2 separate regions of the Homo sapiens genome follow, and region 2 is linked to region 1. The links are contacts of gene promoters, found by promoter capture Hi-C in human tissues and cell types (Jung and others, 2019). All regions are on one chromosome and are shown on one strand. Each heading gives the region's core, a stretch centred on a gene start or on the middle of the fragment in contact. The rest is flanking DNA. Distances are from core to core; before and after follow the strand shown.

Evidence for each region. The method cuts DNA at HindIII sites, captures the fragments that hold promoters and counts their contacts. A contact is called where the count stands out against the background at its distance.
Region 2: a contact is called between a fragment that was not itself captured here and the fragment with the promoter of GNAZ in region 1, in 1 of the 25 tissues and cell types used here (dorsolateral prefrontal cortex).

Annotation. Positions count from the first base shown.
Region 1 is chr22:23,067,442-23,074,853 of GRCh38, reverse strand. GNAZ (G protein subunit alpha z) reads right to left here and starts at 4,335. Exons shown (of 3, transcript NM_002073.4): 1 at 4,284-4,335. All of the region lies in intron 4 of RSPH14 (radial spoke head 14 homolog), which reads left to right. RefSeq lists enhancers at 1,872-2,753, 2,754-3,634 and silencers at 4,241-4,380, 4,521-4,660. The HindIII fragment of the contact is 23,611 bases long and covers 1-7,412 here.
Region 2 is chr22:22,475,624-22,483,035 of GRCh38, reverse strand. It overlaps IGL. Among named protein-coding and RNA genes, the nearest start is that of ZNF280B, 29 kb to the left of the region's middle. The HindIII fragment of the contact is 9,727 bases long and covers 1-7,412 here.

The DNA of each region.
Region 1 (7,412 bases), core at 3,086-5,585:
ATGTGGCCAGCTGTGCCTGCATTGCTCAGTCCCTGGGCATGCCCTGCCTGCTTGACACAGGGGACCTGCTCTCTGGGACCCGCTCTTCTCCAGCCTCCCGAGGCGCCACTGTGACTGTGCTTCCACCTCACTTGCCCGTCAATCCTCAATCTCTCTTTCTCGATGCTTCTCAACTCATCCTCCCCACAGTGGAGGCCCAGGAGCCCAGCTCAGCCTCTTCTGATCCTACCTACCCTTGATCCCTAAGTGACCTCACGTGGTCCCCGGCCTGCCACACACCTCAGTGCCAGGGGCTCCAGGTTGCCACCTCCAGCCTTGCTCTCCCTCTGGCCACATGTGCCCATCAATGGCTCTCCAGGTCTCAGACCCACCTCCTAATTCCCCACCTCTCCAGAATGGGTTTTTCTGTATCTTGCTTCTCAGCCAATACCAGCTCCATCTTTCTACTGGTTCAGACCAAAACTGCAGCTGTCCTTTAAAAGCTGCAGCTTTAAAAAAACAAATCTCCCACCTGCATTTCTCAGGGCCTCCAGAGCTCCCACCCCTGGGTCAGCAGCCTCTCTGCCTGGGATGTTGCAGTAGCCCCTCATGGCCCCCAGCCTTACCCCACCCTAGCCTATTTTCCCACCTCAGCAGAGAGATCTTTTCAAAGTGTAGATTAGCTCCTCCTGGGAGGGCAGCTCCAGTCTCTTCTCTGCTCCAACCCTGCCAAGGTCTTCCTGCCTCATTGGGGCCCACTGAGTCCTGCAGGACCTGGCCCTGACACCCCACCCACACTCCTGCACCAGGTTCCAGCCACTCTGGTGGGGCCTCCAGGGGCCAGGGAGTGTCTGCTCAGCGCCTTTGCACCTGCTGTCTCTCCCCTGCTCAGCCACACCACTCACCCAGCACTTCTGCATGGCACTGTGTCAGTCCCCCACCCCCATCTCGTGTCCCCCACCTTCTGCTTTAGTGTTCTCCACAGTGCAGCACTTAGTAACATGTGTTACTGTCAACCCCTGCCCGTCTGGTGTGAGCACTGTGAGTGGATGCTACGTCCCTGCTGTACCCCTGCACCTGGCACAGTGCCTGGCATGCAGCAGGCGCTGGTAAATGTTAGCTGAACAAATGAATGGATGAATCGCGTGAGGTTCTGCTCCTCCGGCTCAGTCCAGAGGGCTGATGTCTCCTCCTATGTGCTCTAGGATCTGTCAAGCGGTCCCTGTTGGTTCAATCCTGTGAAGCGCCTCCCCTGGCGGTGTTCGCACGAAAGGGCCAAAATGTGTGGCAGGGGCTGGTGTGGGGACAGGGCAGGGCACTCTTGGCTTTGGGTATGGATGAGGATAATGAGGTTCAGAGAAAAAGGGGCTGGACCTAGGATGGTGGGACCAGGACCTGACTCCAGGTCTTCTGCCACCTAGACTGGAATGCTCACCTCACCACCCCGGAGCCACAACAGTCTGGGTGCTCCCACGTCCCTCTTCATTCTGCCCAGGCCGCAGCATAGCCTCTGCTCTGGGATTCTGCCTGGGGCTGACCCTTGGCATCTGCACTGACGCCTCTGTTCATTTCGCTTTGTGCTCCTTCCAGCCAAGCACAGTGCTCACAGGTGCTCAGAGGCTTGGCTACCCCAGGTTTCCTTGCTGGAGGGTTCGGGAGAGCAGCATGCTGACCTGCCTCCTCCAGTGTGCCCGTGCACCTGCCATGGTCAGCAGCAGTGAGAGTGCCTTTGCCACCACACACCGTCTTAAGTATTCTGAGGCTAGCGTGGGACAGACAGCACAGGGCTGCCTTCCTTGCCTCCAGGGGAGGAAGCCGCACACATGTGTTCACACACAAGATGACTAAATTCAGCATTCCTGAATTGCTATATTCAGCATTCCTGTCCCACTGGCCTCTCTGCGGGGGCCCTGGGCAGCCCTTGTGAAGTCAATCCAGTTACCTGCAAATTCCTGGAATTGTTCTAGAAGCTCCTGAGGGCCAGACTGAGACCCCACCCATACTCCTGCACCAGGTTCTGGCCACTCTGGTGGGGCCTCCAGGTCTCTGAGGTTCCTCCTGAGATTCTAGAAAACAAAAGGACTGAGAGGCTGGGGACAGAGGGAAGAATCCATTCCCTGTGTCCCAAACCCACAGTCACATGCCAGGTCCCTGCAACAGTCCAGGCGACAGGCACAGAGCACAGCAGCTCACCCTGCTCAGCACAGACTGCACACCCCACGAGGGCAGGCCCTGTTCTCGCTGCATCAACCTGGGCCTTGGCCAAAGCCAAGTGTGTGTTGGGTGGGGAGGGTAGGCACACTACAAAGATGAGTAACAAACAGCCCCTTCAGAGGGAGAGCAAAAACATCCCCAGAAATGAGGGAGCTGACTTAGGGGGGAAAGTGACACCAATTTCCGAGGGGGAGAAATTATGTCTTATTCACCTCCTGTCTCAGAAAATCAACGTCAGTTAGAGGAACACACAGGAAGACTTTTAAACCAGATGCCAGCATCTCCTCATTCCTAGAGAATGAGGCTTGCTCAAGGCGCATATTTTATCCAAGCACCGCCAGGCCATCCACACCCCCACTGCACCCCGTAGATGGATGCTCCCAGGCTGCCACGATTACTGCTCTCAAACATCCACATCCCAGAGGCACAGAGTCACTAGCTAAGCATCATCCCCGAAACAGGCAACTCAATCCTAACAAGGGGGTTGCCTGGGTGGTTACCCAGTGCCCTGGCTGTGCCCGAGGGAGAAGTGCCTGGAAGCACAGTCTCAGACTGCAAGGAGCCTTCCCCAGTCTTTAAAGCTAGCTCTTCTCCAGGCCCACCCCAGCTCATGGGGTCATGGAACTGCTTCGCTTTTACAGATGAGGAAGCCGTGGTCTCCACCATAGCCACAGTTAACCAGCAGTGGGGTCATTCCACTTCCCAGCTCCCTCAGCCCCGTGCAGCCCCCACCGGCCTTTCCCGCCATACCTCCTCCTACTCCCCAGGCATGCTAAGTGCTCCCATCAGACCTAACTGCCCAAGTGCCTCGGTCTATTCTCTCCTCTCTGCCCACAATGCCCAGCTTAGCTGTGCCCATGTCCTTCAAGCTCCAGTTCAAATGTCATGTTGCCCACGAGCTCACCTGACCCCCCAGCCCAGGACACCACTCTGAGGTCCCTCCCGAGGCCCCTGCACCTGCACTCAAGCGGGGTTGGTCGAGTAGAGACGTTTTCCCCTATGCGGTGGTCAATCAGTCCTGGGAGGGCAGGCCCAGTCCACTCCCACCCGGTGCACCCCAGCGTCAAGCTCTGGGGGAGTGACCACTCAATAAATATTTGCTTAATTGAATTTGGCCAAGGAGCCTTCTCCAGAGAGCTCAATCCCCAGGGCAGGGAAATCACTTGGGCAGAAAGGAGCCGGTCAGGGGCTCAGCTGTCTCCCCAAGCAAGACAGACCTCTCTACCAGGCGGGTCCCTCCACCCCAACACGGACTACGCGGAACGCTGGTCTCGCTTGGCATCATCCTCTTGTCTCAGTTAACAGGAGCCCCCATTCTCGGCCTAGGCCGAATCCTGCCATCATCACCCAGGAAGGCTCAGCACCGCCCTAAAGGCAGAGCCCCCTCGGATCGCCCGCAGGATACGGAGCGCCAGCCCTGAGGCCCTCACTCCCCTCCCCCAAACACCCCCACCGCCTTTTAAGGGAAAAAATATTGAGCCGGGAACGTATTACAATCGCAGCAGGTCGATACTCATCTCTTCCTCTAAATGCCTGTGAGGAACCTGCTCGCTGCAAGAGCAGTGACCGAGAACTGCTAGCTGTCCGTCTGCGGGCCCAGGTCCTCGGGCCCAGGCCTCTGGGGCCCTCTCCTCGGTTTCAGGCAAGGCCCTGCATCGGCTCCGGCCGCCCCTCCCTGATCCTCCCCCTAGGGAGACCCGCCTCAGCGCCGCTCCCGCAGCTCGCCTGGCCCGCCCGGGCTCCGCATCAGCCGCTGCTTGGGGGCGCCCGGCGGCCCCGCGCGGCATCCCCGGCGCCCTCTGTCCACCCTCCCGGGTCCTCAACCGCCCCCTCCCGCGGGGTCATCGGCTTGGCGGCGCATCCCTCCCCCAGCACCTGCCCGACCAGAGGCCGCCCCCTGCCCACCTCGCAGGCGTCCCCGCCCTTGGTGTCCCCCACCCCTGAGGGGCATCCCTGACGCTGCGTCCTGGCGGATCCGGGGCACAAAGGCCTGGGAAGAGTCCCAAGTGGGGGCAAGGTGGATGCCCCGGCCGTGCCCCCGACCCCTGAGGCTCAGCGGCGCGCGGCCGGCCGCGGGTCGGCTCACTCACCTCCGGGCCGCAGCACAGAGCATCTGCCGAGCTGCTCCGGGCAGGGCGGGGCGGGGCGGGGCGGCGAGCACGGGGCCGCGGCGCCCTCGTTCCGTACGACGCGGGCAGCGGCGCCCACGCGGGGACGTGACCGGACCGCGGGCGGCGCACACGCTCCGGCCGGCCTGGTTCCCTCCGCCCGCCCTCCCGCGCCGCCCGCCGCCCGCCGCCCGCCGCCAGTCCGCGGGTCCGCCCGCCCCGCGCCGCGCCGCCGCCGGCAGGGGGCGGAGCCGCGAGCGCAGCCCGTTGCCAGGCCAACCGCGGGCGGGGGGGTGCCGCGCGCCCGCCGGGCACCACGCGCCGGGCACCTCCGCCCCGCCACGAGCGCCGGCCCTCTGTCCATTGGGCACAGGCAGCTGACGGACGGGCCAGTAGCCCAATGGGGACGGACAGGGGCGGGGTCGCAGCTCCGCGCGCGCCGCAGTCCCGCAAGAGCTCCCCGCGCCGGCGTTCCACCGACTCCGCTGCGCTGAGGCCTGGTAGCCGAGCCCCAGGGGCCACCTCTGGCAGCCCGGGAAACCAAGCCTGAGCCCAGCCATGGTCCTGGCCCTCTTTACTGCAGCCAGTCCCGGCTCGCCTTCTCTCCACTCGGGTTCAAACCCAGTTCGGCCTCTTGTGAGCTCTACGTCCTTGGGCAACCGACTGACCTCTCTCAGCCTTTCTGTTTGCAAAGTGGGGCTAGTGGCACCTGCTTTCCTGGATTGTCTCACCAATCCTTCAGAACGTGTGAAAGGCCTATGCAAACCCTAACGATTTACACCGGTGAGGTTTGTGCAGCGATGGGAGGGAGCATTAGTCATCTCTGCCGCCGCCCCCCGCCGCCACCGCCCAGTGTCTAGGGGCTCTTTGGCGTCCCTGGCAATCCTGGCACACGGAAGGGTGGCCTTGGGAGGGAAGGAAGGGAGAAGGACCGAGGAGCTGGCCCCCAGCCCAGACAAGCGTGAGAGAGCCAGTTCAGTTAAGGCCACTGATTGGCGCTTTTGGGAAGCTGGTGGAAAGCATCAGACCCTCAGCAAAACGCAGCTGAACCCAGGCTGCAAAATTCTGTTTTCAATTTCAAAGCCTATCTGTGGACCTCAGGGCCAGGAGTCCCTCAGTTCCATGCTTAAAAGACTCTCAAGCCAGAGGGCCAAGACATGAATGCTCCTGTCTCTCTTCTCCATCTTTGTAAATCTGAAGCTTTGTGTATCCTAGAGCATCCCTGACAAAGTGCAAATGCCTTCCCAGCTAACGCGTTCCTTATCACCTCACACCTTTGTAAGGTGTGGATCATGCCATTCTTTGAGCAGCAGCCCTGGACCTGACCATGGCAGAGGTCCATGGAGCGGTCTCTCCATCATAGCTCTGTGGTGGAGGGGCAGGGGCATGTGCCTGGCTTTGCCAGCTGGACACTGTGGCATCTCAGCATCATCCCATAACCTCCCTAGGAATGTTTCCTCTTCTGTGAGATGGAGACCATTGCGTTACGTACCTGCAGGGTCATGGGCCACCTGTGAGGGTGCTGCCTCAACTGTCAGGAACAGGACGTATATTTGTTATGGGCATCATGGAGGCGAACTTAGTGCTCACTGGAGGTGTCCAGTGAGGACCAAGGGAATTCAGCCAATGGCTGAGGGGCTAGCTACCCTTTGTGCTTGCCTTCCACACCACCAGGCTGTGTCAGGCTGGACCTCTTGCCAGGAGGACCACACAGAGACCGGCAGCTGTGCTACCTGGCTGAGCCTCTGTTTCCTCTTCTGTCAAAAGGGAATGTAACAGACTGTGGTCAGAGGGTGGCTCTGAGGGTTAATGTTTATAGGAAATGCATATTAGCATGTCTTGGGATAGCCAGAGGCTGTTTCCACTGCAGAGTCTGGGGGTCAGAGTTGAATTGTTTGCAGAGGTAAGCCCACATGCAACAGTGAGATGGCCCTTTCCAGTGGTCCAGAGCAGAGGCTAGCCTGCGGAGGGGTCCACTGGGGCTGGCTGACACCTCCCTGACTTGACCTCAAAGTAAGAGAGGGACATCTCACCTGGCATCAAACCAATATTGTATTCATGCAGCAGTCACTTACAGATAGCCTCCTCCACCAGGGTATAGTTGTAGGCACAGTTCTAGGATTCAGACCGGCCCTTTTCTGGCAGACCCTCTGCCTGTAGGGCAGGGGCAGAAAGCAAACAACGATTGGGCCTTACAGTCATGTGAGGCTATCTGAGGAGACCCACTGGGGCTCTGGGGGCATGTGGAGTGGGGGAGCATTGGGCATTGGGCCAGCTTCCCAAAGGAAGAGATGCTTGGAATGAGGCCATAGCAGGCGTGGAGGTGGCCAGTGACATAGGGTGGGAGGGAAGTGAGTTCCAAGGCGGGGACGGTGCAGGACATGAAGGAGCACGAGGCCAGGAAGAACCCAGAGAAGACCAGTGTGGCTGGGGCCAGGGTCGTTGCCCATGCACAGATGCCAGCTTGGGGCAGTAGGATCAGGGACGTTGGCCTAAGAACTGCTCGAGAGTTTTAACATTAGTCTTTTAAATTTGAGAAGGAGGAGGAGAAGTTTTTAATTGCCTGTTTACAGTAGGCGTGGTCCCACAGACAATGTGAGTTGTCCTACTGGACATAATAAAATAACAAAAACATCAGTTAGTCAGTCCAGAGGAAGTGGGAGTGAGCACAGAAGTCAGTCTGTGAGGCTGAGTTCAGTGTACGGTCTGCTGTGGCTGTGAGATGGCAGGGAGACCAAGAGCATGTTAGGAGACAGTGGCGGGGCATTATCAGGACCCAGGGAGATGAGAGAAGGGGAGAGGGTGGGGACCACTGGAGGAAGAGATGGTGCTTACCAAAAAGATGGAGGAGCAGTTGGGGAGGTGGTCAGGAACCAGAGAATGGAGGGTACCAGAGGCACGGGAAGAGAGCATGTGGTAAAGGAAGAAGCTGTTAACCATGCTCCCAGCTACCTGGAAGCCGAGAAAGCTGAGGACAGAGAAGCACCCCTTGGAGCAAAGGCAGGCCCAGTGGGCCAGGAGTTCAGGGCACAGGGCCATGCAAGGCTAAAGCTGGACAGGTGGGTCACCTGCGGCAAGGTGGGCCCCAGATGCCATGTGTGGATGTGCAGT
Region 2 (7,412 bases), core at 3,470-5,969, 590 kb after region 1:
CAATGTTTCTGATTTACTTTTTCCAAGAAGCAACCCCCCATTTGCTTTAGTTTTGTTTTCTCTATTTTTGTTTTTATTCATTATATCTCATTCGCTTTCTTTAGCATTGTTTTTTGTGAGGTTTTTGTTTTTTTTTTTTTTTTTTTTTTTTTTTTTTTGGTAGAGACAGGGTTCTGCTATGTTGCCCAGGCTGGTCTCGAACTCCTGGGCTTAAACAGTCCTCCTGCCCTGGCCTCCCAAAGTGTTGGGATTGCAAGTGTGTGCCACTATGCCTAACCTATTTTTTAATTTTCTTTAACAAAGGATTCAAACCAGCTGGGCGTGGTGGCTCATGTCTGTAATCCCAGCACTTTGGGAGGCAGAGGTGGGTGGATCATATGTGGTCAAGAGTTCGAGCCTGGCCAAGATGGTGAAAACCCGTCTCTACTAAAAATACAAAAATTAGCCAGGCGTAGTGGCGGGCACCTGTAATCCCAGCTACTGGGGAGGCTGAGGCAGGAGAATCACTTGAACCTGGGAGGTGGAGGTTGCAGTGAGCTGAGATTGCACCATTGCACTCCATCCAGTCTGGGAAACGAGTGAAACTGCGTCTCAAAAAAAAAAAATTAAGACGTGGTGGTGCACACCTGTAGTCTGACCAGCTACTTGAGAGGATGGGGCGGGAGGGCTTGAGTCCAGGAGGTCTGCAGTGAGTTATGATTGTACCACTAGGTGACAAGAGATGCTGCCTCAAAAACAAACAAAAAACCCAAAACTTGGAAACCAAACTGAAAGTCAAATTATTAAATATATACCTACTACAAACAGTATTCAGTTATCAAAAGTAGTGATTATAGGAGCTATTGCAGTACACAATTTTATTTGGCTATAATGCAAAATAAGAAAGGAACATACAAAGTTATATGTACTTTGCAATTGTAATTATTCATGATAACATCTATGGAAAAGAATGATAAATTCTAAATACAATTGAGTTTACTTAATCCCATAGTGATTTTTATTCTTTCAAATGCTGGTATGGTGGCTCACAACTGTAATCTCAACACTTTGGGAGGCCAAAGCAGGCGGATCACTTGAGGCCAGGAGTTCCAGACCAGCCTGGCCAACATGGTGAAACCCCGTCTCTACTAAAAATAGAAAAACTGGCTGGGCATGGTGGTGTGTGCCTGTAATCCCAGCTACTCGGGAGGCTGAGGCAGGAGAATCGCTTGAACCCAGGAGGTGGAAGGTGGAGGCTTAGCCGAGATCACCCTGCTGCGCTCCAACCTGGGCAATGGAGCGAGACTCTCTCAAAAAAATGTTATATAAGTGAGTTATTTTGTCTTTTAAAAGCATTCATCATATAAATAAAGTAAATTCCATTTCAGTGGTTAGCCCTTTTAGACTCTTTCCTTCCCGGTTATGAGATTGAAATTAGAACAATTATCAATGTGTGGCAAGACTGCCACTAAGACACAAGTCTTTCTTAGCTTTAGGGCAAGCATTGGCAAACTGTGGCTTTTAGGCTAAGTTTAAATTTTCAAAACATTGTTAGAGCCAGAGACCCATATACACCCAGCAAAGCCTAAAATATTTACTACCTGACACTTTATAGAAAAAAGTTTGCTGACCCCTGCTCTAGTTATAACTTAGACTCATTTGTATCTTCCCCTGTATTCATGTATGTGGGCTAATGGCTTAGAACTTTGGATGTGAATGGGATGGGGTTATTCCTTGATCCTATCCAGGGATTGATAGAATCCAAAACAGTAGAAAGAGGCACAATGTCAGAAATGACAGAAAAGCTGTCTGAGGGATGTGTGCATGGGTGTGTATAAACATACACATCGAAACCTTAGTACCATTTTTCCATGTTTTTTGATGGGTGGGATTGTGTGCTTTGCAAACAGGGAAGGGAATGTGTTATCTGTTGCTGCATAACAGGTTACCACAAAACTAACAGCTTAAACATTAACTCACATAGTCTCTGAGTGTCAGGAATCCTGGAACAGTTTAGTGTCAGATCCTACAGGTTAGGGTCTCGGTCCTCCAGACTTCCCCCCATACCCCCAGACACCACTCCCAAGTCTGGGTATACTGAACTTCTGACTGACTGACTTCAAGTTGGGGTTCTCACAACCCCCTCTTTGGATTTCATTAATTTGCCACAATAGCTCACAGAACTTGAGGAAACACGTTTACAGGTTTATTATAAAGGATATTACAAAAGATACAGATGAAGAGACACACAGGGCAAGGTGTGTGGAAAGAGGTATGGAGCTTCCATGGCTTCCCTGAGTGCGCCAACCTCCAAGAACCTCCAAGTGTTGTTCAGCTAACTGGAAGCTCCCTGAACCCAGTCTTCTTGGGTTTTTATGGAAGCTTCATGACTTAAGCATTCTCTCCCGCTAGAGTATAGGGCAGGATTCTCTCTTGGGAGGGTCTTAGAACCCACAATCAGAAAGATTAGAGTCCTGCCTTGGGGCAGGTAAAAGGATGGCAGAAGGTCAGAAGCCTACCTCTGAGGCCTAACACCGAACATTATAACAAAAGACTGTAACAAGGGCTGTGGGAGTTATGAACTGTGGACAAAACCAATGTATATTATAACACCACAAGAGCATAGCATACACAGCATAGAGATGCTGGTCAATGGGATGATTTATGTCCTGAATGGAACTCAGAGCCACTGCACTAGATTTCATCACACTAACCAGAATGGCATGCAATTTAAAACCTAAGAATTGTTGGCTGAGTGTGGTGGCTCACGCCTCTAATCCCAGCACTTTGGGAGGCTGAGGCAGATAGATCATTTGAGGTCAGGAGTTTGAGAACAGCCTGGCCAACATAGTGAAACCCCATCTCTACTTAAATACAAAAGTTAGTTGGGTGTGGTGGTGGGCACTTGTAATCCCAGCTACTCAATACACTGAGGTAGGAGGATTGCTTGAGGCCGAGGAGCAGAGGTTGCAGTGAACCGAGATCACGCCACTGCACTCCAGCCTGAAGGACAGAGCAAGACCCTGTCATTAAATAAATAAATAAATAAACTAAAACCTATGAATTGTTTATTTCTGGAATTTTCCGTTTAATATTTTTGGACCACAATTGACTGTGGGTAACTGAAACCATGGAAAGTAAAACCACAGATAAAGGGGACTACTGTACTCTGAAGCATCATTTTTGATCTTTCAGAGCCTTAAAGGATTTTACCCTCTGACTGGGTGCAGTGGCTCACACTTGTAATCCAAGGCTGGTGGATCACCTGAGGTCAGGAGTTCAAGACCAGCCTGGCCAACATGGTGAAACTCCGTCTCTACTAAAAAAAAAAAAAAAAAAAAAAAAAAAAAATTTGCTGGGCATGGTGGCCTGCACCTGTAACTCCAGCTACTCGGGAGGCCGAGGCAGGAGAATCACTTGAACCTGGGAGGCAGAGGTTGCCGTGAGCTGAGATCAAGCCGTTACACTCCAGCCTGGGTGAAACTCTGTCTCAAAGAAAAAGTAAAAAGGATTTTTACCCTCATCTTTCATATTTCTGCACCTTTCTTTAGTGCCCTGGATATAACCTTTGCTTGGGAGCAGTTAATTTTAGCATCTTTTGCCATCTGGAAAGACTGGGAATTTTCAAAACCAGCAGGTACTGGCTCTTGGCTCTTTTTTGTTTAACACTTCTTCCCTTAGCTTGTTTCTGTCCCCTCAGATTTTACTATAAGTAGCAAGAAGAAACCAATCAGCACTTTCAGCATTCTGGCTGGAAATCTCAATTAGATGACTCAGGTACATTTTCTACTTTCACCTGACTAGGTGATAGTCACTAAACTTTCTGCCACTACGTAACTACGTAACCCCTTGCTCAATTTTCTAATAACATGTTCCTCACTTCATTTTAAGCTACACCAGAGCCTTCTCAGAGTCCAGTTTTCTACTAAGGCTTGCACTGACAATCTCCTTGAAGATTTTTTAGCTTCTGCCCACTGCCCAGTTTCAAAGCCACTCCTACATTTTAGGTATTACACCAGCACCTCCCTTCCAGGTACTAAAATCTGTATTAGTTACCTATTGCTGTATAATATATTACTGCAAACTTATCAACTAAAACCACCACTATTTGTTATCTCATGGTTTCCGAGGGTCAGGAATTTGGGGTCACTTAACTGAGTGGTGCTGTCTCAGCTTCTTTCATGAGGTTGCAGTTAAGATGTTGACTGGGGCCATATCATGTGAAAGGCTTGACTAGGGCTTTCAAACTCACTTGGGTATTGGCAGGAGGCCTCCCTCTGTTCCTTGTCATATGGTCCTCATGACATGTCAGCTGGCTTCCTACAGAATGAGTGATCCAAAAGAGAACAAGGAAGGCATTGCAATGTTTTTTATAATAGCCTTGGAGGTAAAATAACTTCACTCTGTTGTATACTCTTGGTCACCCAGAGCAACCCTGATGCTATGTGGGAATGGACCATATACAGATAGGAATACCAGAGGGTGGGGAATCACTGGAGGCCATCTTGGAAGTTACCACAGGGAAAATGGAACATTAGAAGTTTTTATGATACAAGGAAGGCAGCTAAAACTGAGTTAATGGTCATTGTGTTGCCTTCCCACTCTCTGGTGTGCCATTGTGGCTGACACCATTTTGAGAGGATTCTTTTTAAAGTTCATTTATTTTAAAATGTTGAGTATATAATATATTCACATTCTTCAAACATCGAAAAAGTAACAACTCAGATTCTTTTTTTAGCCTTTCAGATAGTTTCTTATTTTTTCTTTTCTTTTTTTTAAATAACTGATTTATATTATGCACAGTCTTCTGCACCTTGCTTTTTTTATTTGACGGTGTAACATGTTCACATTTTATGGCATATAAACAGGAAAATTATAGCCTGAGATTATGAAAGGGCTAATTAAAAATATTTCTGAAGTGTTTCCAAAGATTACTAAGAAAAATCGGGGGCCGGGTGTGTTGGCTCACGCCTGTAATTCCAACACTTTGGGAGGCCAAGGTGGGCAGATCACAAGGTCAGGAGTTCGAGACCAGCCTGGCCAATGTGGTGAAACCCCATCTCTACTAAAAATACAAAAATTAGCTGGGCATGATGGTGGTGGGCACCTGTAATCCCAGCTACTTGGGAGGCTGAGGCAGGAGAATTATTTGAACCCAGCAGGTGGAGGTTGCAGTGAGCTGAGATCGCACCATTGCACTCCAGCCTGGGTGACAGGGCCAGACTCCATCTCAAAAAAAAAAAGATTACTAAGACAAATCTCTAATGCACTATTATAAAATTGTTGTAAAGAAAAAAATCCCTGTCCATTTCACAAAGAATAAATATAGCTGATTGGTAAATAAATGCAAAATATTTAGTCTCCATAGCAAAAACAAAAATGGGAATTAAAGCAATGGTAGCGTACTGATGAATATTATATAAATTGTAATGTTTACTGTCAGTGAGGATGTATTAAAAGGAGTTTCAATTGGCATAAGCCTTTTTGGAAGTTATTTCAATATATGAATAAAAAGGTAATAATTTCATTTTTTTCATAGGATGCTTTTTTTTTTTTTTTTGAGACAAAGTCTCACTCTGCTGCCCAGGCTGGAGTTCAATGGCGCAATCTCGGCTCACTGCAACCTCTGCCTCCAGGGGTCAAGCAGTTCTCCTGCCTCAGCCTCCCAAGTAGCTGGGACTACAGGCACCTGCCACCATGCCCGGCTAATTTTTTGTATTTTTAGTAGAGACAGGGTTTCACCATGTAGGCCGGGCTGGTCTCAAACTCCTGACTTCAGGTGATCCACCTGCCTTGGCCTCCCAAAATGCTGGGATTACAGGCGTGAGCCACTGCTGGCCTCATGGGATGCTTTTAACATATCCAATAAAAATTTACAGAATGAATGTTTATGTATATATCCAAAATTGAGTATGTAAGATAATTCATCAATACTTTGGTTGTACTAATGTAAATGTAAAGTAGAAATAATTTTTTTTTTTTTTTTTAGTTAGAGACAGGGTATCTCCATGTTGGTCAGGCTAGTCTCAAACTCCTGATCTCAGGTGATGTGCCCACCTCGGCCTCCCAAAGTGCTGGGATTACAGGCATGAGCCACCAGGCCTGGCCAGAAATAATTTTAAATGCCTGGAAACTGAACAGTTTTGTACTTTTCATTTAATAGCTGCACAATCTACTTTTTTTGTTGTTTTTCGTTATTGTTGTTTTGGTTTGGTTTTTTTTTGAGGCGGAGCCTCACTCACTCTGTCGCCCAGGCTGGAGTGCAGTGGCACTATTTCGGCTCACGGCAACCTCCGCCTCCTGCGGTCAAGAGATTCTCCTGCCTCAGCCTCCTGAGGAGCTGGGATTACAGCCGCGGGCCCCCACGCCCGGCTAATTATTTTTTTGTAATTTTAGTAGAGATGGGGTTTCACCACATTGCCCAGGCTGGTCTCAAACTCATTGGCCCCAAGTGGTCAGCCGCCTCTGCCTCCCAAAGTGCTGGGATTACAGGCATGAACCACCGTGCCTGGCTGAAATAGCTGCACTATATACTTTTTTTAAAAGAGATAGATTGCAGTAATGTGAAAGAAAACTAGCAGGAAAAAAATTTGTATACATTGTGATCTGAACTATGGAGAAAATATGTGAAAGAACAGCCAGGCGCGGCGGTTCACACCTGTAATCCCAGCACTTTGGGAGGCCGAGGCGGGGCAAATCACTTGAGCTCAGGAGTTCCAGACCAGCCTGGCCAACGTGGAGAAACACCGTCTCTACTAAAAATACAAAAATTAGCCGGCGTGGTGGCAGATGCCCGTACTCCCAGCTGCTCGGGAGGCTGAGGCAGGAGAATTGCTTGACCCCCCCAGGAGGCAGAGATTGCAGTGAGCCAAGATTGCACCACTGCACTCCAGCCTGGGTGACAGAGTGAGACTCTGTCTCAAAAAAAAAAAAAAAAAAAAAAAAGAAGAAGTAGGAGAAGAGACTAAAATTGTAACATCTAACTTCTGAACTATTTGGTCTTTACGGCGTAGTTAAATATGCTCCTTGAAACAAATACTTCTAGGTCGGGCATGGTGGCTCACGCCTGTAATTCCGGAATTTTAGGAGGCTGAGGAGGAAGGATAGCTTGAGCCCAGAAGTTCAAGACCAGCCTGGGCAACACAGGGGGATCCAGGCTGTACAGAAAATAAATAAATTAGCCAAGTGTGGTGGTACACACCTATGTTCCCAGCCACTTGGGAGATTGAGGTAGGGGAGGATAGCTTGAACCTGGGAGGTCAAGCCTGCAATAAGCAGTGATTGTGCCACTGCACTCCAGCCTGAATGACAGAGCAGGACCACATCATTAAAAAAAAAAAAAAAAAAAAAAAAAGCCAGATTTTATGTAGTAAACTTGCATTGTTTTGAAAAATTTTTTAGGCCAGGCGCGTTGGCTCATGCCTGTAATCCCA